Regions from separate parts of the Homo sapiens genome. Here all the other regions are linked to region 5. Evidence: promoter capture Hi-C in 16 types of primary human blood cells and fetal thymus (Javierre and others, 2016). All regions are on one chromosome and are shown on one strand. The core of a region is centred on a gene start or on the middle of the fragment in contact, and the rest is flanking DNA. Distances in the headings are between cores, read along the strand shown.

Region 1 (4,490 bases), core at 416-2,915, 570 kb after region 5:
CACATGGGGGTCTTAGAAGGATCAGGACAAGGGAACTTTGGAATTGGTAAATTTGTGTATTAAGGGTTTCAAGTTGTCCCAACTTCAAATTTTACATCCCTTTGCTGAGAGAAGACCTGGAAACCTACTTTTGTCTTGTTTATGGCAGTTGATTGGAATCTTAGTTTAGAACTGGCCCCTGGAAGAGGTGGAGGTCATTTTGTAGGACTTGGAGCATGCCCAGAAAGAGATGGGACAAAGTCATGAGATCCTTTGACTGGGGCATTTCTTGGATAGATCATGTTTTTTTTAAACAACAACAACAACTGGGGAGCATAGTCTGGATTTCATTGTGGTGGAGAACTTGGAGTATTTCTCCAGGTGCTGTTCATCAGTTTGCACTCGGTTCTGAGGAAGTGTCTTGAGCTGGGTGCCTTGCCCTGAGGGAGTATAGAGGTGAACAAGATATCTGTGCCCTGAGGCATCATGGAACAGTGCACTGAAGTGGAAGGAACCCATGTAACCTGAATAGGGGGCAGCAGCTGTAAATGCTTCAAGAGAGGCGCAGCTGTCATGGGGTTGGGACTCAGAGAGGGGAAGAAACATTCCAGGTGGAAACAGGAAAGAGCTTCAGGTAGGAAGCGACCTTTGAAAGGGCAGAGGGGCCAGACATCATGCAGGTAATGCTGCTGCTTGGTTGGCCTGTGAGCTTTTCAGGTTGATGTGTTGAACTGAACCAACAAAGCGTTGTGGATTTGGTGAGCTGTCCTAAATGTGGAGTCAGGGGAAATGTGAAAAGCCTGCAGCATTGTGCATCTTGACTGCTAGGGGATGGAATAACTTGAACCTGATGTTTGTTCAGAGGAAGCTGGGAGGGTTTTATTCACAAGAGTGGCCTTAATTCACAAGAATTGGAGACCAGGAGGGTGAGAACACCGCCGTTCTGGATCGCAGCAGTCTCGTTGATCTTCACGGTGTCGAGCGTGCTGGTGTGCCGCCTCCATACGACAGGTCCCTGTTCGCCGGAGGGTTCAGGACTTCCTTGGGAAGCATTTCTGAGACTCTTTTCCTCTGTACCTAATGGAGCCCCCGTGTTCTCTGGCCAGCTTCCTTCCACGGGGTGCTGAGTTACTGCCCCGTGTGTCATACAGTGGACCTTCAAGCTGCCTTTGGTGGTAAAAGCTTGTCTGCATGTGTTGCATACAAAAGGCTTTTCTCCAGTGTGACTCCATCCGCCTTTAAATCTGAGGAGCCGGAGAGGATGAGAAGGTCTTCCCACACCTTGTGCATCTCTGTTGCTTGGCTGTGGGCATGGCTGGGCCTCTTAACAATGGTGTCATGCCCAGGGGTGGGGGGAACGTGGCCTGGGGTCTGACGAATACCAGGAACTTCAGCTTTGATGGAGTTGGCTGGGCTCTGATAAACTTGGAGACTGCTCCCACCTTCCATCTCAGCGTGGCCGCTCTCAGCTCTGCCCCCGCCATCGGGAGACTTGGACTAGATGTTTAGAAAGCAGTTTTAGGGTTCAGAGAAATTGGGCCTAGCATCTGTGGGCTCATACAGATATGGTTCGTCATCTCCAGTGGTTCAACTTACATGTTTTTTTGACTTTGCCATGGTGCAAAAGCAATGCACATTCAGTAGAAACAGTGCTTCGAGTACCCATACAGCCAGTTTTTCAGTATTCAGTACGTCACATGAGCTATTCAACGCTGTGTTATAAAATATGCTCTTGTGTGAGATGATTTTGCCCAACTGTAAGCTAATATGAGTGTTCTGAGCAAACTTAAGGTAGCTAGGCTGAGCTGTGATGTTGTGTAGGTTAGGTGTATCAAATGTATTTTCAACTTCACGATGTTTTTCAGTTTACAGTGGGTTTAACAGGATGTACCCCATTGTGAGTTGAGCATCTGGGTGGCCCTACAAGGTAGAACCAAGGTGTAAATAGTCAAGAGTTAGAGGAAGGCAGATTACTAGCAGTCACATTGCACGCACGCTATGTCATTGTACTCGTGCTAGCAAGTTTTGTTAAATGGCGCTTATTTTGAAATACATATGCAGTGGACATGTACTGGGAGTTAGAAATTAAGTGCAGAAGGCAGACAGCTATAGCATTCTATAGCATTTGGATGGGAGTATTGGCACCTTTTTTTTTTTTAAACAAAAATGTTCTCAGTGAAAATGTGGTTATAAGCTTATTTTTTTCTATTTCTCTCAGAAGCTGTCTGGCAAATGTTTTGATTCTTTGGATGTTTTTTGATGGGGTCTACCCTCAGGTCTCACACCTCCGGCATCATCTGTGGCTTCGTCTTTTCTAATCAAACCTCCTTTGAACTTTTCATGTTGTCTGCTGAAAGTTACATTTGCATAGCATCAAATAGTGCATAAACTACATGTACATTGTCATTTTATCAATTATTATAAAGTCCTGTGGATTTTTACCTATAAACCCTCTTCTAATCCATTTCTTCTCTTCCCCATTATGGCCTCTTTATGAGGGAGGGAATTTAATATACTTGCTCTGTCTCTCACCTTCCCCACAGCCCCTCTAAATCCCAATTTTTGCTAATTGTACCGGTTTTATAATTTTCAATTTTTTAGTAGTCACCTTTTAACTGTATTTCTAGTATTTCTTGACTTGTCATCTTAGACTTCTCTCCTGTGTAAAAGATGAGGAGCTCTGTAAGTCTCCACCAGGACTTGTGGGGAAGGGTTGACGGGGGTCACTTGCTTATGGCCGGGTGCGGGTGGGACTGCATTTTTTAACCCTCTCTGTGTGGTTGGGGTAGGATGGTGTTATGGTGTGACTCTGTCCCCACCCAAATCTCACCTTGAATTATAATAATCCCCACCTGTCAAGGGCGGGACCAGGTGGAGATAATTGAATCACGGGTTGGTTTCCCCGCCGTTCTCATGATCGTGAATTAGTTCTCACGAGATCTGATGGTTTTATAAGGGGCTTCCCCTGCTTTGCCTGGCACTCATTCTCTCTCGTTGTCCTGTGAAGAGGTGCCTTTTGCCGTGATTGTAAGTTCCCTGAGGCCTCCCCAGCTATGTGTAACTGTGAGCCAGTTAAACCTCTTTTCTTTATAAATTACCCAGCCTTGGGTATTTCTTCATAGCAGCGTGAGAACGGACTAATACAGATGGTTATTGTTGAAGTTTTTTGACCTACTAGGCTGCCCTGTCCTGGTCCTTTGGCTAGAGAGGATAGGTCTTTCTTGAGGCTTTTCTTCTGTACCTGTTGGTGTTTCTGGGTTGCTGGCTTGTTTAGCACTCAGTTTGGAGCATTTGAGGCAAAAAGAAAACCCAGAGAACCCGCTGGCATGGTTCCCAGCCCTGAAACCCTTAGCCGGTCTGCCTCCTCTCTCACATTCTGAGGCTGACGTTTGTTTTATAGGCAGCATCCAGGGCTTTTAGCTGCATTCAGCTGGAGGGAGGGGGAGATGTGTCTTCTCCATCTTTTTGGGAGTCATAGGTCAGTTCTCTTTGTGCTATGCTGTTATTTCCTATCAGGTGTGGCCTTGATGGGTTCTTCCTGTTTGTGAATAAAAGCCCAGTTGACTGGCATCAGAGCGGAGGGGACTGTGCAGTCCTGTGTGTGGGTTACCGGCCCCGTGGGCTTCACTGTGCGGGTTGTGTGTCTGGGAGCAGGTGGGGAGAACCGGATGGAGGGCTCTAGAAGCAGCTACACGAGCAGAGCTGAGGGAGACACTTTCTCTGCACCTGTTTCCTGTGTCACACTTCAGATGGGGGATAGTCCAGGCTGGTGGTGGAGCTCCCAGGGGATTTCGCTTCTGGGTAGAATTGTCATTTTTTTTTTTCCTCAGAGACTGTTGTGTGGGCCTAGTGGTGCATCAGGTTCCGGTTAGAATCCAGTGCAGGCCGCAGGCTTCTCTTTAATTAGAGAGGGTCACTTCACCTCCGGTTAGAATCCAGTGCAGGCAGCAGCTTCTTTTTAATTAGAGAGGGGTCTGGGTGCTGAGCTTCCCATCAGGAAGAAGGGGCTGTCGTGCTGAAGTCCTGAGGTGGGTCACGTGTCCCTTCCTGTGTTAGAAAACCGTCTTTGGTGCTCCTGGGGCTCCCTTACAAGTGCTGTTCTGAACTGTTAGGTCATTCAGAGTCCATCTGCGTCCTGTCCCCAGGGATCTCCTCAAACCCTGTTTAGACTGCTCATAGCCTTTCCCTTTTTAGCACTACAGCGGGTTCTTTCTCTGTTAATTTTTTGAAGCTTTTTCTTTCTCTCATTTCGGTGGCACCTTGGGAGGGATGGGAGTTAGATAGGTGTTTGCAGTGGGCCATCTTGAGAAACTTCTCAAAACTGGAGTCTTGTAACTGCTTGCATTTTGAAGTTAATGGAATGGGCGCATTGCCTTTATAGCTGTAAATGTTACTGCTTCACTTACTGTTAGCCCAAGCCAGTGTGTTGCATCTGCCCAGATCCTTCTTTGTGGTATGTGCTCACTTTCTGGCGACAGCCAGGCTGTTCTTTGCAGGCATGTGCTCCTAGC
Region 2 (4,635 bases), core at 657-3,156, 670 kb after region 5:
GAATGAATGACGATGACACAGGCGTTTTCTGCTTACAGATTTCCTCACATCCTTATTAGGCTATTAGGATCAGCTCTGTCGTGTGCTCAGTTTTCATGTTTTCTTCTTCATGTGAAGGTTGTAGCTCAAGAAGGATTGCTGTACTCTGATATTCTCATCAGAGTTTCAGAGTCCATCTGATTTCTTTCAGCAGTAAAGATTGTAACTACTCATTGGCTTTTAGCTAGCATTTCATTTTTAATGGCTCTACCATTTTAAAATTCTCCATTCTTTCATGGAGATCAGTTTATCCCAGGGACGTGTGTGTACACGTGTGTTTATAAAGAACAGTGGATGAGCTGCTTCACTCAGGTTTTCAACAGCAGCCTGAAACTCTACTTCATACAATTTTATATCAAGTCAGCTTTTCTCTGTGGCCAGACCCTCCGTCTTAGTGTTTCTTTCACTGGTGGCTGGGAAGGCATCCCTTCAGCGGGGAAGGCACTGTGCCTCATGTTTAAAATGTTCTGCATTCTCCTACAGAGTTTCTTGTGTGGGATGATGTATTCTGTGATCCAACTCTGACCAGCTGAAATCATTTTCTAATTTTAGCATAAAGCATACTTCCTTTGACTTTTTCAAGAAAGGAGAAACAAAACCAGACACTGCTTTGACGTTGTTGCTAGAAGGGATGTCTTACATAATTTTATCCATCTATACATTATTTCCTATGAAAAGATGACCTTACAGTGGCTTCATAGCATGACCTGCATCTCACACAATTCCCTCCCCCATGCAGGGACTAGAATGTGATCGTTGCAGGAAGTTGATGGCTTCTATTCTTGAAATTGTGGCATTAGCTGCCGTCCCTCTCAGCCTGTGTTTTGAAGGTCGCGCACTTCCTCAGAATGCCGGCCCCACTCCGTTTCCAGTTCACAGCGCCACACAGCTTGTTCTCCCATTAAATGCACCTTACTATTGTTGGCTAATTTGAGGTCATTATTGGCTGATTTTGAGAATGACTTATTTAACTTTTCTCATTTAACTGTCATTGTGATGGAATATTTTGGGTTTTCCAGGAATATAAAATGCATTAATGGCACACCGCTCTAAGAAGTTAATTTTTGATTAACTTTGTTTTGATTAAAGTTGAGTTTTCTAAGAACATAATTGGTTTTAATACCAGGGTTTGGCAGTGTTCAGTAAAGATCCAGATGGTAAACGTTCTCTGCTTTACAGGTTCAGGCCTCTTGCAGCTGTACTCTGCCCTTGGAACACAACAGCAGTTTTAGACAGGCACAGGCCTGCCTGTGTGCCAGGAAAACTTTTTTAAAAAACAAAACTAGGCGATCAGGCCTTAGTTTCGCCCAGTACTTTATCACCAGGTGAAGAATAATACGTGGCTGGGGGGGAATCACCTTCCTTCTTACAGCCACATGCCCTGTGTGCTTTTGTGAAATTCTCATCTTTTTACTAGATGAAGTACCTTTTTTCTATAAATGTTACTCCGTAGCTAATAAATGTGGCTAGTGGATGTCTTTTGAGTGCTGGGGCCCCAGCTAGAGCTGCCCCTCCTGTCTGGGGCAGACGCCGTGAGGAGCCCCACGCTCGGCCCAGGTGGCGCGAGCTAGTGTTTGGCCCCAAAAACTGACTGCTGAGAGCCAGAGATACGAATGAAATGATAAATCCTGAGGTTTATTTCACATGGAGTGTTTAAAGAGCAGAAGGAAGTGCGTGATAAGTGCCCTTTCGCGGTGAGCACGCGAGTCTCATGTTCTCTGCCCTTCCCGCTCTGTGCCCTTGGCAGCTCCCCTCCCACCCGGTCACTCCGTCCAGCAAGCACGCAGACAGCAAGCCCGCGCCGCTGACGCCCGCCTACCACACGCTGCCCCACCCCTCCCACCACGGCACCCCGCACACCACCATCAACTGGGGACCCCTGGAGCCTCCGAAAACACCCAAGCCCTGGAGCCTGAGCTGCCTGCGGCCCGCGCCTCCCCTCCGGCCCTCAGCTGCTCTCTGCTACAAGGAGGTGAGGTCCCTTGACCACTCAAACAGCCAGATGACGGTGAGCATGCCTCGGGCCCTGGGTGTGCCCACGTGCTGGGCCTTCTGTGTACAGCAAAATGCACCCTAACTCCTAGAGAACTGAGAAGGGGGGGTCTGCCTTGGTTCTCTGGTTATCTGCTCTGCTGCTGAGAGGCCCGTGGTAACCTGTGTGGGAAGGCGATGTGCAGGGTCCCCCTCCTTTCTGCCATGCACAGGGGGGCCTTTACTGCACTTGCCGGAGGAGTGTGCCGCCAGGGGCCAGGAGCTGGAAAGGCGCTGAGCCCAGGTGGCTTTCACTCCCTGTGTGTGAGGCCATCGCTCAGCATCTGCACGCTGTCTGCTGCGTCTAACGACCCCTCCTCTAGGTTGGGGATCCTGTCCAGGAGCCCTGCATTTTGTCATCCAGAAGCCATTTGAGATGAAGAGAACATTTACTAATACAAATGAAAAACAATCACTTAGGCGGTTTCCCCCTTTGATGCATAAGAAATCATGATGCGGTCTTTGCTTGTCTCTGTTCTCATCCGGCATTTTTATATTTGCTAGGCGCAAATAAAGTACGATTCCAATGAATAAATAGAAGTGTTAACACTTCCTTACACTTTTACCTAAACCAGCTTGGATGAGGAAAGGAAGTGTCTTTAGAAATCTGTTCTGAGAAGTACTTTCACCTGAGGAAGCTGATAATTGAGATGAGAGTTGTTTTCATAAGCAGTTGAGCGTGCATGGTGGTGAGGTATGAGGAGTGGCGGTGAGAGTGTGGGTATCGTGCGCGTCAGTGTGAGCAGCAGTGCCCGTTGGTGGGGTGTGAGTGAGCGTGAGGATGGTGACACGCTCTTGCCTGGCATTGTGCCTCTGTGTCTGGTCAAGGCCACATTTGCCAAGGGAACTGGAGCAGACTTTTTCTACATTCTTGCCGGCAGCCCTGGGGGTTTTAAGGCCCACAGGAAAGTACTGTATGAGAAATTAGGATCTGTGCTTTTCATTTTTTGTTCTGAGTCTTTGTTTTTATGATATCTTTCAGGTAATCATGTGTGCAAGTCAGAATTTCCATTTTCTATCATGGGAAGTTACTTGAAGAATGTTGCTGTTCCTTATTGTATACTTTAGTGTGCACAGTCTAAAGAAAAAGTGAGCTACTACAAGAACTGGTGGAGACTGAATTACTAGGGAAGAAAATTGGGATAAAACTGTTGGGCAAAGAAGTAGAAAGGGCAACGGAAGGGGTATTGAAGTGAAGATAAACAATTTTTTTTGATAAGTCTGGCTGCATTTGCTTTGCCAACTCCACACTGGGAGAGAAGGGCTCACACCGAGCAGCTGCCGTCCAGTGTTGCTGAGCACCGCCCAGCAGTAGCGTGGAGAGTGATCTTGCAGGGTGTGAGAAGAGGACATGGAGGCTCGTGGAGGCCGCTCTGCAGCCCGCTCTGCCTGGCTCTGGCTCAGGTGTGCTGTGTGCTCTGTGACCCTCTGCGCCTGCAGGTGCCCTCGGAGCACGTGAGGGGCGGGCGTTGGCTCTTCAAGGCTCTCCATCTCAATTTGCTTCGAATTAGGGAAGCCATGAGCACATGTGTATAAATGTGTCTTCTGGAACAGATTGCTGCTGCATTTCTAAGAGCTTTCCAATTTTTTATAGAAATACTTTTGTTTAACTTTTTGAAGGCTATTTTAGATTCAGAGTTTGTTACGTGGCTGTATTGGGTGATGCTGGGGTTTGGGCTTCTGGGGTACCTATTACCCAAATAGGAAACATTGTACCCAATGGGTAGCTTTTCAAAACTCACCCCCATCACCTTCCGCCTTTTGGAGTCCCCAGGGTCTGTCATTTCCATGGTCATGTCCATGTGTACCCATTGTTTAGCTCCCAAGAAAAGACTTTTAAAGATAATTTTAAAAACCAAGCTTTGTTTCCTCTGTTTCCAGCCTGGTTCATTCCATAGCACATCTCATCTTCTGAGTCTTGGTCTCGCGTTTAGCATTCGTGATGGTTTATGTCGTTGGGGTGATGCAGAAACCAGCCTTTTTTTGATATCGGTATTTAACACGTGCTTGACAGTTGACACCTTACCTGCTCTGTTGGGACTTGCTTTGCTCACTTTGTTTTTTGCCGTCGTCTTCTGTGCTTGTTTGAAAAGCTGTTTGAAGAGGTAAGGGGTGGGCCATTCCGTTGTGAACACTCTGAGCTGGTGTGCATGTGGCCCCTGCACAGCAGCCCTGGCCGAGCTTGGCTGTGCTCCTGGCACTCAGAGTCAGGTAGCTGAGCACTCGCTCCCTTTTCTTCTCCCTGAAACTTCAAATATTTTCTTAAAGCAATTATTTTTTACTTATCTGTCATTTAATGACAACCTTAGTTTCCTCCTCTCTTTCCAGTTAGCTGTGCCAGGGGATAGGTCTGTCCTAGGGAGCAGCTGCCCCCTCCTCTCCTCCTCCCTCAGGAGCGTGCAGGATGTCTGTGCACACCAGCGCCAGCCTGCCTCCTGGTGACACCTCTCATCACAGGACTAACAGGACCCAAATGACACGAGGGGTTTTATTAGAATTAAAAAAAAAAAATTAGCCAATGACTAATACTGAAAATGCCCTATTGATTTTTAAAAATTAACGTTC
Region 3 (4,539 bases), core at 1,051-3,550, 590 kb after region 5:
CTTGGTACTTTTAAGCTTTTAAACTATAGGAATGACCCCTCCTAGATGGAAGGAATGCTTTGCTTTTCTGTTTGCCCTTTGTTTTTGTTTTTGAAGTCAGTGGGAAGGCAATACCCGTACGTTTTCTTTTTGAGACAGAGTTTCGTTCTTGTTGCCCAGGCTGGAGTGCAATGGCATGATCTTGGCTCACCGCAACCTCCGCCTCCTGGATTCAAGCGATTCTCCTGCCTCGGCCTCCCGAGTAGCTGGGATTACAGACACGTGGCACCACACCCGGCTAATTTTGTATTTTTAGTAGAGGCGGGGTTTCTCCATGTTGGTCAGGCTGGTCTGGAACTCCCAGCCTCAGGTGATCCACCAGCCTCTGCCTCCCTAAGTGTTAGGATTACAGGCATGAGCCACTGCGCCTGGCCTCGTTTCTTTCTAGATTTCAGCTTTCCTTGATTGGCAAACAGTAAGACAACTGCAGCAGCCACAGTTACTGTGGACATTCTTGGGAAAATTGTCATTGTCTTTCTGCTTCTGTCTCTTAAAATCATATGTGTTCTCAAGGCATTTAGTTGACTGTAACTGGCCTTTTAATTGGATAGAAGAAAGCTTGGTGATGGGGAAGTACAGAATGTCTTCAGGATGGCCCTCCTTGTATGAGAATTTCCTGGAAGGCTGTGGCCAGCAGAGCACTGCAGACCATGGCCGGGAGCCCTGTAGAATTTGCTGGAAATGCCCTTTTAGCTGGTTTTGTGCTGCGGGTTGCCTGAGACCCCTGTGTTCTCAAGCAGAATGTGCTCTATAGAGATTACTCGTAACCTGCCCTCAGCAGGTCCTGGGAAGTGTAGGGTGAGGGGGTGACCTGAGAAGAATTTAAGATCGTTGGAGTAGCAAGCCCCCATCTGTGGGGTCAGGCAGGTGGCGTGAAGGGAGGAGCTGGATGGAAGGGCATGGGTGCTGGGTCCTCTCAGGACAGCCCCTGCCCAGCTCTGAGCCAGCTTTACCTGATGGGATATAGACCTGGTGTGGCCACATCCTAAATGTGTCAAGAGCAGTGGGGAATCTGGGTTTTTGGTGATACCTTCAGACTTTTCGATGTTGACCGTTTAATTCAGAATTTTATAAGATACGTGCAAGCCAATCCAAACACCTGGGAGGAAGCTGGGACCTGGAGACTTAGGGTTGCTTTCATGGAAGCCTCCCTGGAGTTTAGGACATGGCCGGGCACGTGCCTCTCAGAACAGCGATTTTCCCAGCAAAGTTTTTCACAGCCTCATTCTCTCTTTTTTTTAATTGAGTCACTTTTAAGAATAAATTGCTATTATTTATTTGTTGGATGGCCTGTGTGGAGTGTCTTATGAAGGGAGATCCAGAGAACAGAACTAAGCCTCTTACTGTCTGTTTACTTTGATTCTGTCAGCAACTTCATGAGGTGAGTAGAGCCTGTGCTGCCTTAGTGTTGGGGAAATAATCCTCACAAGGTTCTCTCTGGCTGAAAAATACACTGGATTTTCTCTTTTAAATAAGAGTCTTTTCCTTCTGTTGCTTATTGCATGACACATCGTCCTGGAAAAGTGGGCATGTGGTGGTGATGCTTTGGAGAATCAGTACTTGGTTGTTCTCCGCTCCATAATCAAATTTGAGAGGCTTTTTTTTCCAGGTGAAGGGAAAATCTTTAAAAGTTATAATACATTTCACAAACTTTTGAAAATTATATTAGAGAAGAACTGATTAATAGTTATCTCCAGATAATTTCTGGAAAGGTAGTTGGGGAATGAATGCAAGTCATTTATGTAGCAAATAATTTGTTCTTTGTTTTCTGCATAAATGGGCTGCTTTGTTGTGGTCTTTTGGTGTGTCCCTCTGTGCTGCCCTAGTTTTAAAGTCTAGTGTGTAGTGTGGGTGCGTGGTATCAGGCGCTCTCAGCTCTCTTTTTCTGTGTGCATGCTCTTTGCAGACATCGGGCTGGGGAGTGACTCCGTGTGTGCCCGGCCCTCGTCTCACCGCATAAAGTCTTTTGACTCCCTTGGATCACAGTCTTTGCACACTCGGACTTCAAAACTGTTCCAGGGCCAGTATCGGAGTTTGGTAAGTTTGAGAGATTTTGTTACTTAAATATGTTTGGGAAGGATATGAGTGTGTATGGATATATCTGAGAAGATACGTATGCCTCCATTAATGGTGTTAAACAGGGCAAAGGTAGCTGGACTTCGCCTCCGTTGTGCCTGTAATCTGGTTTGGCATTTGCTCATTACCAGATGATCCAGATATTATGCTTAATGATTGCTTTTGAGAAACTCATTTGTTTTTAGGTTGTATTGCAAGACTCATGACTCGATATCTGGAGTGATGCTGCTTTAAAAAAACACACCCCTTGTCATTTGCATGGCATTATCAGCTATGCACATGTACAGAAATATTGAGAATAAGAAATATGTATGGAAAAGTACTCAGCTCCGTAAAGAAGAGATGGTTAAAACTAAAGAATCTGGCCTTTCTTCTCTTCATGAAAGCATGGCTTAGTGTGCTTTACTAAGTCAGGATTTAGTTTACAGGGGAGGGAATCCCTTAGAATGACTGATTGGGACGCAGAGAAAGAAACTTAGATGATCGAACAGTTGTCGTGGAGAGTGAAAAAATACTCGTTTAAAAATGCTCAGGATACAGGCTGTGAGTAAAGCCCATGGAATGTAATAGTGAAGTTGAAAATGAGAAACTCAAGCAGGGTTAAACAGGGCTGCCTGTAGAGTGTTGGGGCAGAGCCAGGGCTGCCACTCTGCAGTCCTGCACCCTTCTCTGAGCTGCAGCTGGCGGGCAGTGACTTCGATTGGCTGCTGGGGATACCACTGCTTTCTCGCGACAGTACATACTTTGTTAGAAACATAGTGATCTTGTAACGTGAGTCTAGAGAGAACCCTATTCTAGAGTCATGAAGGGTCCATGGATTTTCCTCTGCCTTAACATGGGGGAGTATTGCTAAGTAAGCTGATGGTGGTCCTCAAGAAATAAAAGTTAATTTAGATAGAGTCGTGATTTGTAGAGGGAAATAAATTACAGTGGTTTATGAAGCATGTGTGAAAAATGGAAAGATATGCGAGGAATGTGATTTTTATGTTTCTGAACTTTTTGAACTCAAGCTCGCTATCATTGCTGTGTCTCCTCTTAGAGGATCCCCGAGGGGTCTGACTGCTTCAGGCGTGGTGGGCGGTGGGCTGCATGGCCTGAGTGCTGCAGTCCTCACAGCAGCCCCGAGAGGCCTGGCTGTTGCTGTTTCCTGCTTTGCAGGAGCCTGTTCTGGAAGAATTCTGTGGACTACCATTGGGAGCATTAGGATTCCAAGTTAAAGAGGACTAAACAAACCACTTTAAACACACTTGAAATGAGCTCTGTAAAACACATGAGGAAAACATAAGAGAAATCAGCTCGCCTTGGGTAAAGCTGTGATTTGCTGTCTCACCCGTTCACTGGTGGCAATTTTCATCTGATTTTTTTTTCTTTTTGAGTAGAGGACTAGATTACAAATGTATAATTTTAAGTAAAATAAAGTTAAATGTAATGTTTGTTGGTAATGTTACTGAGATCATAGTAAGTATTGGATTAATTTTTCATTAGCTGCTGAAATTTCGTTATACTAGAAATAGACTTGCGCTCTCTGACCTGTGTGAAGTCTTTTTGGGCTGATGTTTTGATTGGGTGCTAGAGAGCTGCTTTCTCTTTGATGGAATGTGCAAGACCTCTCTCAGCCATGCTAGGTAAGAATGAATGTTTCTTTACCCTTAGGTTTTTCTGTGTAGTTTATCGATAGCACTTTGTAGTAGTTTTCTTGGATTAAAAATTAAGAACTTATCTTGAAACAAGAATGGCCTAACATTCCTTTGAAGCTGGGCAGTGGATGCATGGAGGGCCACCTGTCACTCTCTCCTTTTGTGTGCATTTGAACATTTCCATGATAAAAAGTTAAGCTAAAAGGCAACTTGCAGTTTCTTGAATGTCAGTTTTGAGATCATATTAAACCTAAGCTTTGAGATTGCGTAAGACGCTTCCATCCCCCAGGCGAGGATCTGTGTTCTGAGGGGCTGGTGTTGTTTATGCCCCTTTGCTCTTGTGTTGCTCCTTCATTACCTGCCTCCCTTTCAGTGTAAGAATGTGTCCTCCAGCCACCACTGCAGTTGCTGGTTGTTTTTATAAGCTTGTTTTTCATCTGTGAAACCGTCAGCCCCCTGCCTCGGGACAGATTTCCTGTCTTGGGATATAGGCAGGCTTGAACAGTTTGATGTTGCGTTTACTGCTTTGCACTGCAGTGGAGGTTTTCACTTGTCTGCGGTGCCCCTCCACCATTCCAAGGAAAGAACAGTCAGGGGAGAGTTCTTACCCACTTCCAGAGGCTGAACTAAATCGAGCTCTTTATCCAGTTCGGCTCTGTGATGGGCCTCGGTGGTGAAGAATGTGGTAGGCGCCAGTTGTAGATTTAGGTATGGTTTTTCTCATAGATAAGGCATGAGTTCATACTTCACTCTTTGTTCGACACCGCTGGAATTCCTGGTGACTGCT
Region 4 (5,084 bases), core at 2,535-5,034, 620 kb after region 5:
AAATTTTAAACCACTCAACATGATAACAACAAAGTAAACCCTCTAAACATGTGTATGTTTTGAATTCTGGGGAAAATGCGCATTTGTTTTGTTATTTCTTCCCCTACTCCCAATCTTCATTTTCTTCTTGAGTAGATATAACTATGAACCCACGAGACCTTTGAATTGTTGGTGTGAAACAGCAGTTGATTGGTGTTTTTGTGCAGCAGTCATTTTCTTGTGAGCATTTCATTTTCTGCACCTGTGTTGGGAAACGGTGAAAAGGTGTGGTGCAATGGAGTCTGAGCAGCTCCACCACGTGGAGCTGTGCCACCGTCTTGTGCTGCGGGGCTTGCACTCTCAGCTTCCTCCTGAGTGCCCACCTTCCATCTGCCCCAGCATCGTACTGCAGGACAGACTGGCCTGGGGACCCACTCATTAATAACTGTTTATTGGGCGCCTGCTCTGTGCAGCTCTGTTAAAGGCACCAGGATGCACAGTGAACAGAATGGCGGGTGCCTCTCCCCTCGCTGAGCTCGCACTTGGGTACGGGAACACAATGGTCTTTTGTTGCCTCCATTTTTACTGCTTCTTTTTCATAATTTGACATCTGTGCACCTTCTTGTGAGCAGGTCTCCTCATGCATCATGCCACTTCTCTTACATTAGTGGCAATCTTTGACTTATTTTTCCTTGTATTTGGTCAACTCCGGATCCTTTTCTGCCTTGGAAACCCTTTTCTTTTGCTTCCCCTCTTTCTTCCCTTTTTTTCATTCATCTTCATTTGGCTGCTTGGACTCTGCCTTCCATCTCAACTTTGTGGACTTTGAGAAGATCAGACTCCTTTTAGCGCGTCGTGTGGCCCACATTACCCGAGACACCTGCTTTCTGTCATCTCTCCTAGTGCTCTGCATCGCCTTCATCCCTTGGCCTGTTGGGCATTTACTCCCAGGATTTGGCTCTACTAACCCATTCGCTTTTTAGTGTGTAATGTAGCTTATGTGTAGTTTTGTGTACGTAGCTACAGAGACAGTAGATGGGTTTTATGGGTTGTAGGAAAACTTGAGTTTTAACTCCTGGAGCTGCCCTTTCCTCTTGCATTCTTGTATAAGACACTGCTTTTTTGGGGAAGGCTTCATGTGGTGAATAACACAGCCACAATCCACAGTGAGATTCCAAAGGGTGTGTTACCTTCTGTTATGGTTCAGGTCCAGATAATTCTGTTAGAAAAAGTGGTCAGCAGTGTTTAAATTGGTGCCAAGGGCATTCTTTAGTTTCTCCATTAATCTTGCTTTCATTAGGCACTTTATAAAACCAGGCAACCATGCTTTTTTAGAAATCCTGGTGGGTTTTTCTTTGCATTATATATTCTGTAATACTTCTCAGATTGAAGCATAGTCGATACCTTTTTCGTTTTCCTTCTCTAACTGTCCTTTTACAGAGAGAATAGCCTGGGTATTATAAGTGCTCTTTTCTTCAAATCAGCCAACTCTTTCATACAGAATGATGGAAAACACCTTGACCTCAAAATCACATCTAAATTGTTTTCTATATAAAGCTGCATTTATAAATAGCACATGGTAAAATTACAGTTGTTATAGAAATAAACTCATAGAATTCATAGAGAATTGTCTTTTGATGTAGTACTCTCATTTTACAGCAGAGAAAACAGAAGCTAAATGCCTTGTCCAAGGTTATACACTGGTTACTAAGCCAGGAATCAATTTCAGCTTTCCTTAATTTTATATTTGTAAATTGTACATAAAAATAGAGAACAGAATACAACACAGAACAAAACATGATAGATAATGTGTTAGGCATTTCTACACCCCCTTTTGTAGTTTCGTTTTCACAGAAAACTATAAGGTCTGGGTGTTTTTAACCTCACTGAAAGTTGAAAACTTACTAAAGGGTAAGACTGGTGTGGACCAATGGTGTTAAGGAAATTTACATGAATGACTTGTCTTAACTTGGGATCAGTATAATGGAGTTGAGAGAAGAGTATTCCATGCGAAAGTACCAACATTTTGAAATTAAGAGACAATGAGACAGGTATGAATGGGATGGATATGTGTTTTCCTGCTATTGTATAATAGTTAAGATGAACACCAAAAAGACACTGGAAAGTAAAACTCGTAGTAATTTATGTCTGTTATTATGAACCATTCAGTAACTATTTCTCTCTCCTCTCCTTCTGGGACTCCTGTGGTGCAATTAGTCAAATATAGACAATATTTGAGCCATTGTCTTCATACTGTCCTTTAATTTTTTAAACATAGTTTCCTTTAGTTCTTTGGACATATTTATAACAGCTGCTTTGAAACCTTTATCTCCTAAGTCCACTATCTGTGCCCCCTAGAGACAGTTTCCATTGACTGCTTCTTTTTTTCTTGTGTGCGTGTGTGTGTGGTCACACTTTCTTGCATGTCCTATGATTTTTTAAATTGAAAACTGGATATCTTAGACCTATTTTAGCAGCTCTGGATGCTTGAAATCCACCTCCCCTGGGTTATACTGTTGCTGTTGCTGTGTCTTGCTCAGTGACTCACCTAGAGCACTTCTGTAGTTTATCTTCCCATAGTCACTGATGTCTATTTTTATTTTTTTATTCTTGTTTTTATTTTTAATTCTGTCTTTCTAGGATTCACTTTTGGGTAGCATAATTTAGTATTCAGCCAAAGATTCACCAAAGATTGTGCTTAAACACCTTTAACAGTTCAGGTATTACGGCTCACACCTGTAATCCCAACACTTTGGGAGGCCTAGTAGGGAGGATTGCTTGAGGCTAGGAGTTTGACACCAGCCTGGGCAGCATAACAAGACCATGTCTCTAGAAAAAACCAAAATTACCTGGGCTGGGTGGCAAATGCCTGTAGTCTTAGCTACTCGGGAGGCTGAGGTGGGAGGATTGCTTGAGCCCTGGAGTTTGAGGCTGCAGTAAGCTATGATTGCACCACTGCACTTCCAGCCTGAGCTACAGAACAAGATTGTGTCCCTAAAAAACCAAAAAACACCTCTGACGGTGAGGTTTCACTCTTGCCAGTGATCTGTATGGGGTTGGGGAATGCATTCAAAGAGAGGGCTGGGGAGGAGCATGACTTTTTAAAAGTTAAAGGCAGTGGATGAAATGACAAAGGAAAAGATAAATCTTTTAGGCTACCTAATGAGAGTTTAATATATTCCTTGCCTCAAACAGTATAAGCCAGATCACAAGTTAATTGGAATGTTATTTGCATCAGGTATAATACAAGGTTATCCTTAATGTCTGAAGAGCTCATTAAGACAAATACATGAAGATTAATAGACAAATGGGAAAGGTTGTGAACAATTTAAAAAATGGTAAACACTAAGGCTTTGAAAAAAAATAGTTAAACTCACCATAAAAATTTTAATAGGCATATTTTCTGTAATCAGTGAGCAGAGATTTAAAGAGAGAATCTTTAGTTCTAATGGTGGAAATGTAAATCCATACAGAGTTTCTCAAAAGTAATATGGCAGTTATATATAGAATTCTGGAAGTGATCAAGTTCTTTAATTTAGGGCTTTCTCTTTAATTTCTAAATTTCTTGAAATCCATTCCAGAGAATTAACCTGAAATATATTCAAAGATGCTTGTGTAAAGGCATTTTCAGAGGATTATTTGTTATAGTAATAAATTGCAAGCAACCCAAAATAAACAGTATGAGATGAACAGTACCAGAATGATTAAGCGATCAGTGGTTTGTCCATTTGTAGTTACTAAAGTGTACATGAGGCTTTAAAAATACAAAAAACATATATTTTCATGTTAAGTGCAATAACAGAATATGAAATTACACAGGTGATATGATCTCATGGTATTACAAAGTTGACATAGAAGATAGAAGACATTGTGCTAGAGAATGGTTTCTTTCCAGTGGAGGAATTTTAGCTTCCCACTAATGTAAGGGATAGTGATTATGGGGGAAGTCTTTGGCACCACAGTCCAGAATGTGTTGGAGATAGAAACGGGCCTCTGAGGCTAGGGAGGAAGCCAGCGTGGAACATGGCAGGCACACAGGCCTTGGGCTTGGAGAGTGACGGGGAAGGGAGAGGAAATCAAGATCTCTTAAATGCAGATCTTTTAATTTCAATTAGTTTTTGTGACACAGCCAGCCACTACTCTTGCCTCTATTTTCTCATGTACGTACTGTTTGAAATCAGTCTGTTAGCTGTGCTTAGGGTGCCCTTGTTGTGTAGGTAGTTCAGATAATTAAGATCCGGGCGGCTTGATGCAGTGGAAGGTGTACAGCCTTTTTGTTGAATCGTCCATGCTGCTTAGCCTGGGTGGCCAGGAGCTTTGGCCCTAGCTTCCTGAGCCCAGTTATCTCATTTGTAAAATGAGATTGGTAATGCTGGCCCTGACCTGGTAGTATTAAGTGGACTGGCAACTGGCCTTAAGGCCTCCAGCAAAGTGCTGGACCTTAGAGGTTTTTGTGTGTATTAAGAAGAGTATTTAAGAGCATTGGGAACAGAAGGCATCACTGAGGCCACCATACCATTCTGTTTGTAAACTGGAATCCCCGTAGATTTTGAGGGTGACCTGTGAAAGCTGTAGCCAAGGTGGCCTGATCATATAATTAAAAGAGACAGGTTTGTGACCTGATGTGCCCGAGCTTGGTGGATTTGACAGTGAAAGCACACTCGTTGCCCCCATGGCATGGTGACTGGCATCTTTCCTGATGGGGATCAAAGGAAGGGGTTGGATGCCTAGGCTGGAGAGAATGATGGTCTGGAGTTGCCTCTCGGGGGGATGAGGAGCACCCCGCTCCGTCATTAGAGAATGAGGTTTCTTAAGTCGCTGACTGGGAAGACACAGTCCTTATGGCCTTCCCTGCTCAGCGATATACACTATGGTTTGATTTTTTAGGCTTTCTGTATTAGTCCGTTCTCACGCTGCTGTGAAGAAATACCCGAGACTGGGCAATTTATAAAGAAAAGAGGTTTAATTGACTCAGAGTTCCGCATGGCTGGGGAGGCTTCAGGAAACTTACAGTCATGGCGGAAGGCACCTCTTCACGAAGCAGTGGGAGAGAGAATGAGTGCCAACAGGGGAAATGCCAGATGCTTATAAAACCATCAGATCTT
Region 5 (4,881 bases), core at 372-2,871:
TTTTTGAGGTGGAGTCTCGCTCTGTGGCCCAGGCTGGAGTGCAGTGGCCCGATCTCGGCTCACTGGAAGCTCTGCCTCCCAGGTTCACGCCATTCTCCTGCCTCAGCCTCCTGGGTAGCTGGGATTACAGGCGCCCGCCACCATGTCCGGCTAATTTTTTGTATTTTTAGTAGAGACAGGGTTTCACCGTGTTAGCCAAGATGGTCTCGATCTCCTGACCTTGTGATCCACCCGCCTCGGCCTCCCAAAGTGCTGGGCTTACAGGCATGAGCCACCACGCCCGGCCTCTTCATAATAAATCTTGCTGCTGCTCACTCTTTGGGTCTATGCCACCTTTAAGAGCTGTAACACTGTGAAGGTCCGCAGCTTCATTCTTGAAGTCAGTGAGACCATGAACCCACCGGCAGGAACTAACTCCACACATAGTTATAGTTATCTCTTGATTATAGGCTAAATAAGGAGGGGATTATTCATGAGTTTTCTGGGAAAGAGGTTGGCAATTGCTGGAACTGAGGGTTCCTCCCCTTTTTAGACCATATAGAGTAATTTCCTGATGTTGCCATAGCATTTGTAAACTCTCATGGCGCTGGTAGGAGTGTCCTTTAGCATGCTAATACGTTATAATCAGCAAATAATGAGCAATGAGGACACAGAGGTCACTTTTGTGGCCATCTTGGTTTTGGTAGGCTTTGGGCCAGTTTCTTTACTGTGTCATCTTATCAGTGCGGTCTTTGTGACCTGTATCTTGTGCCCACCACCTCATCCTGTGGCCAAGAATGTCTAACCCCCTGGGAATGCAGCCCAGTAGGTCTCACCCTCATTTTACCCAGTCCCTATTCAAGATGGAATCGCTCTGGTTAAAAGGCCTCTGACATGTTGAGCCATCCTTTCACCTCAGCCTCTCAAGTAGCTGGACTACAGGTGTGCCACACCATCCCCTGCTAATTTTCCAAAAAAATTTTGGTAGAGAAGGGGGTCTCCTTATGTTGTCCAGGCTGGTCTCAAACTCCTGGGCTCAAACGATCCTTCCATCTTGGCCTCCCAAAGCATTGGGATCACACGCGCGAGCCACCGCACCTGGCCCCACAAGTTTCTTTTAGCACCATGACGGTGGCTTCAAATAGGGCGGCAGTGGAGGTAAGAGGCCATCAGCCACAGGAGGAGCGTGGGTGGGAGGGCAGGAGAGGTCAGAATGCCTTCCAGGGGTTTGGGCCTCAGCGTTGGAGTGATGGAGCTGCCCTGACCTGAGACGGTGGAAAGCGAAGGGGCCTCGCAGCGAGCTGGTTTGGGGTTCAGGGCAGAGGTTGCGCCTGGAGCAGAAAGGCACCTGACTGCTATACTGGGGGCACATAGTGGGCCTCGGCACTCCACCTGCCAGCAAAATCATTTTCTATAACGCCGCAAGCCTAAAAATGGGCCGATAAACACAAACCAGACCCTGAACCAGATCGTTGTTAACTCTTCAACCTGCCTTCCAGCCGAACCTCTTAGGCCAGAGCTGGGACCAGGCCGGGTTGGGCGTCGCGCTTGTCAATCATCTAGAACCGGGTGTGATTGAGCGAGTTGGGATCCCACTGCCGACAGCCGCGCGGAGGCGGTCGGGAAACCGGAAAACGCTTCCAATGGCTGTGTTTCCGGCGACGGCGCGGGGGCAGCTGGGAATCCGGAATGCTGCCCGATGGCCCTGGGTCCTCGCTGTGGGGCAATCCGGGCTTGCAGACGAGGTAAGGTCGATTCCATTTGGCCCGGGGATGGTCACACGCGCGGGGGCCGGAACTGCCGTCGCCGGCGCGGTCGTTGTCGCATTGCTCTCGGCCGCACTCGCGCTGTACGGGCCGCCACTGGACGCAGGTACCCGACCGCTGACCGCCTCTGCTGGCTCGCGGGGGGGAAGCGCCGCCGAGGGGCAGCCCGCGCGCGGGGCCGGGGCGCCGTGTGGCCTGCGGGGCGGAGTAGGGAGAGGACGGAGGCCTCCTGGAACGGCGCGGCGACGGCTGGGCGCGGCTTGGGTGATGGGAGCCTCCGTGCGGGGTGACAGAGGGGCAGAGGGTGGCGCCGGGCCGGAGCCAGTGCGCGTCCCAGGAGCGGCGGAGCCCGCGCGGTGGCCGGGGAACGGGGGGCCGAGGGCCGAGGACGGTAGGAGGGCCCTGGGGCGCCGTGGTGCGCTGGTCGGATCCGTCTGCTCTGCTCTGTCCCCGCTCCCGGTCTGGGAAAGATGCTCGCCAACTGCGGGCTTGCTGTTTGGTCGGAGCTGGATACGGGGGCCCTCCTGGGGCCCAGGGACGCGGCGGGCGTGCAGGCGAGCTGGCCGGCTGAGCGGGCTTCGCGCACACCAGGAGCAGGGCCGTGTCTGCATCCCCAATTTGAAGTCCCAGTGCGACTGGGCAAGTACAGACCCTGCACGTCCTTGGACGAGAGGGACTGGATATTGCGACGCCTGGGCCGCAGAAAAGGACTCCACCAGCCAGGCCTCCTTCGCCCGCCCCCGGTTCGGGGTGTGTGTGTGCGTGTAGGAGGTCCCTTGGGGAGGGAGGCTCACCTGAGTCATCCCCAGAACCTGAAGTGCTGGCCAGATGTCCCCGAGGGCCCTGCCCTGGCCTTGGCTGGTCCTTGCACGCTGAGATGCCTTTTCAAATAGAACGGATAAGGTAGAAAGAATTTAAACAGGAGCTGAGCAAGTGCTTGGAGCCCCATCTCTTCATAGGGTTTTTTTGTCTTTCTGTTTGCCTTGTTGGTATTGGTGTATCTAACATATTTTATACAGGAAGTAGTTCGTGTATATCTCATTTCTCATAAGGAGAGATTGCTGTTATCCACCTTGGTATAGAAGATAAATAGAAGCTCAGAGAAAGTGACTTAGCCAGGATTCTCCAGCCAGTGAGTGGCCGAAATGGTTAAACGCACCATTTGTTGCTGTAGTCATTAGATAGATTTTACCTTGTGTGTATGTTGGGCATCGTCAGAGAGTTTGGCTTTTTGTTTTCATCAGCACACACTGAGAATGCACTGGGTGGCGCTGAGAGGGTACTCTACACTGCACCTCACTCACACCAGCAGGGAGGCTTCTTAACACTTTATTTAGAGATTTATTTGTAGCTCTTTACCTTAAATTCACACACCGTGATTAGTAGCAAGATTTTTCATTGCGCTTGGTTGAGGATTTATTATCAGACTGCCTAAACTTTTACGAAAAGCCAGGTAGAGTTGTATATTACTGAGGCTTTAGGAAATATTTCAGTTAACTTAGGGATTGTGGTTAAATGCTCTAAATTAGTTATAACTCACATTAACTTAAAGTATTTTTGTTTTTTTAAGTAGAATTTTCCAGTACTAAAAGCACTTTTAGCACAAAGCAGCAGTGATAGTCTTCCCCAGACACGCTTCCTTAAAACAAAAGCCAAACAAATTTAACCTGTTCTTCCAGACTCAGAATTGTCTGAAGAGTTACCGAATGGGATACATCTTAAGTCGCCTATTGTCAAGGCCTTTTTATCCTTCAGAACTTTGATCTTTATATGTAAATGTTTCTGTGTTAACATTTGAAATGTTAAGTTCAAATGGTGACGTCAGTAAGCCAGCTGGAACTTGCTTCACTGCCAAGTGCTGGGAAGTTTAGTTGACCTGCTTTGGCCCTTTTGCTAACAGAAGCTGTTTATCTTAGGTGAATGCTGGTGAGCAGCCTGGATTTTACTTTGTGTTAATACAATTCTATTCAAGTGAAAATGCTATACTTCTTATTTTGCCTTAAAATGGCAGCATTTTACACCTACTGTGTGCCCACAAAAATAAAAACAAAAACATGGCAGCACTTTGGTAAAATAGTGTCTTGTGGCCTGGCTTGTCCATTACTAACCACAGCATCTGCACAGGTTTCTCTCTGGGCCCCAGTTTCCTTATCTGTAAAAGAAAGATAAAGTGCTAGTGAGGAGAGTGAATCACGATGTCTTGACTTCATCGAACATGTATCAAGTGTCTTGTTCTGTGCCAGGCTGTGTTCGAGGTGATTGAGTCCCACATGGAAGCAGTCAGTGCTGCAGCTTGCGGATGGTGCCACATTCCTCGTGGGCAGGCAGTAGTAGGGTGCTGATTCTCTGCCAGTCCAGACATAAGAACTTCCTTCTTATGTCCAGGTCAGCCCCTACCATGTAGGTTGTCTGTGTGCTCGAAAGGTTTCAGAACCCCACATGTAATAATAGTTACTTTTGGTATCACTTTGAATTTTTAAAATTATGTAGCAAAAAAGTTACTATTAATTATATTATGAGTTTAACATAATTTTAAGCTAGCTTCCATTTGAGAGCCGTTGTTCTCATGTGTAAATCTTGAAATATTCAGTTTCTGGATGGCGCTTCTTGTTCTCCAGGGTTCTTAGACCCAGCCCTTACGGTAGCATCATGGCCAGGGAACTGGGAATCTCACAAAGTCTTAAGATTTCACAACGGAACAGGAGCAGGAGGAGGCGACTCCCGCTGGTGGGTTGATCAAGTTGCTGTGAAGGTGGTTTGCACATTTTGGGCTTCAAAACACTACCTTCTGTATAAGATAAAGGAATAGCTCAGAACAGGATTCCCCCCGTGTTTTCTTCCTAGCTATGATAAAGATTGCCGTGTGAATGCAGTGGGTTTTACACACTCAGAATTGATATTTTTGGCTTGTGGTAAATGGGACTTTAATGCTTAACCTGCTGTAGAAAAATCCGCCTTAGAAAGTGGCCCTTATTCGTATATTGTATTCGATGTTTGAGCCCCCTGATATCTTATCATTTTAACAAAGCTTACCTTGAAGTGCAGGAAAAATTGTATGTGTTCTTGTCATTATTTGAATAACAACAAAAATCAGTATTAGCTTTAAAGCCTGTAGGTTTTAAGCGTATCCTTGCCT

Evidence for each region. Contacts are between HindIII fragments. The CHiCAGO score rates a contact against its expected background, and 5 or more counts as called.
Region 1: a fragment that was not itself captured here is called in contact with the fragment with the promoter of NAXD in region 5 in 1 of 17 cell types (total CD8 T cells); the score reaches 6.7 in total CD8 T cells.
Region 2: a fragment that was not itself captured here is called in contact with the fragment with the promoter of NAXD in region 5 in 1 of 17 cell types (naive B cells); the score reaches 5.3 in naive B cells.
Region 3: a contact is called between a fragment that was not itself captured here and the fragment with the promoter of NAXD in region 5, in 3 of 17 cell types (naive B cells, total B cells and total CD4 T cells). The highest score is 5.3, in naive B cells.
Region 4: a contact is called between a fragment that was not itself captured here and the fragment with the promoter of NAXD in region 5, in 1 of 17 cell types (naive B cells). The highest score is 5.0, in naive B cells.

Annotation. Positions count from the first base shown.
Region 1 is chr13:111,181,219-111,185,708 of GRCh38, forward strand. The region is part of intron 2 of ARHGEF7 (Rho guanine nucleotide exchange factor 7); the gene reads left to right. It also overlaps the pseudogene SALL4P4. Among named protein-coding and RNA genes, the nearest start is that of ARHGEF7-AS1, 35 kb to the left of the region's middle. RefSeq lists enhancers at 2,922-3,061, 3,522-3,651, 3,752-4,011. The HindIII fragment of the contact is 1,012 bases long and covers 1,160-2,171 here.
Region 2 is chr13:111,281,353-111,285,987 of GRCh38, forward strand. It overlaps ARHGEF7 (Rho guanine nucleotide exchange factor 7), which reads left to right. Exons shown (of 22, transcript NM_001354046.2): 16 at 1,787-2,011. Among named protein-coding and RNA genes, the nearest start is that of TEX29, 37 kb to the right of the region's middle. The HindIII fragment of the contact is 4,043 bases long and covers 1-3,928 here.
Region 3 is chr13:111,207,927-111,212,465 of GRCh38, forward strand. It overlaps ARHGEF7 (Rho guanine nucleotide exchange factor 7), which reads left to right. Exons shown (of 22, transcript NM_001354046.2): 4 at 1,946-2,076. Among named protein-coding and RNA genes, the nearest start is that of ARHGEF7-AS1, 62 kb to the left of the region's middle. RefSeq lists an enhancer at 3,762-4,289. The HindIII fragment of the contact is 3,410 bases long and covers 596-4,005 here.
Region 4 is chr13:111,233,992-111,239,075 of GRCh38, forward strand. All of the region lies in intron 6 of ARHGEF7 (Rho guanine nucleotide exchange factor 7), which reads left to right. Among named protein-coding and RNA genes, the nearest start is that of TEX29, 84 kb to the right of the region's middle. The HindIII fragment of the contact is 7,694 bases long and covers 1-5,084 here.
Region 5 is chr13:110,613,924-110,618,804 of GRCh38, forward strand. NAXD (NAD(P)HX dehydratase) reads left to right here and starts at 1,622. Exons shown (of 10, transcript NM_001242882.2): 1 at 1,622-1,724. The coding sequence starts at 1,679. NAXD-AS1 (NAXD antisense RNA 1) reads right to left here and starts at 2,430. Exons shown (of 1, transcript NR_182301.1): 1 at 1-2,430. RefSeq lists enhancers at 703-1,630, 2,532-2,581, 2,602-2,651 and silencers at 1,832-2,081, 2,092-2,251. The HindIII fragment of the contact is 4,814 bases long and covers 1-4,771 here.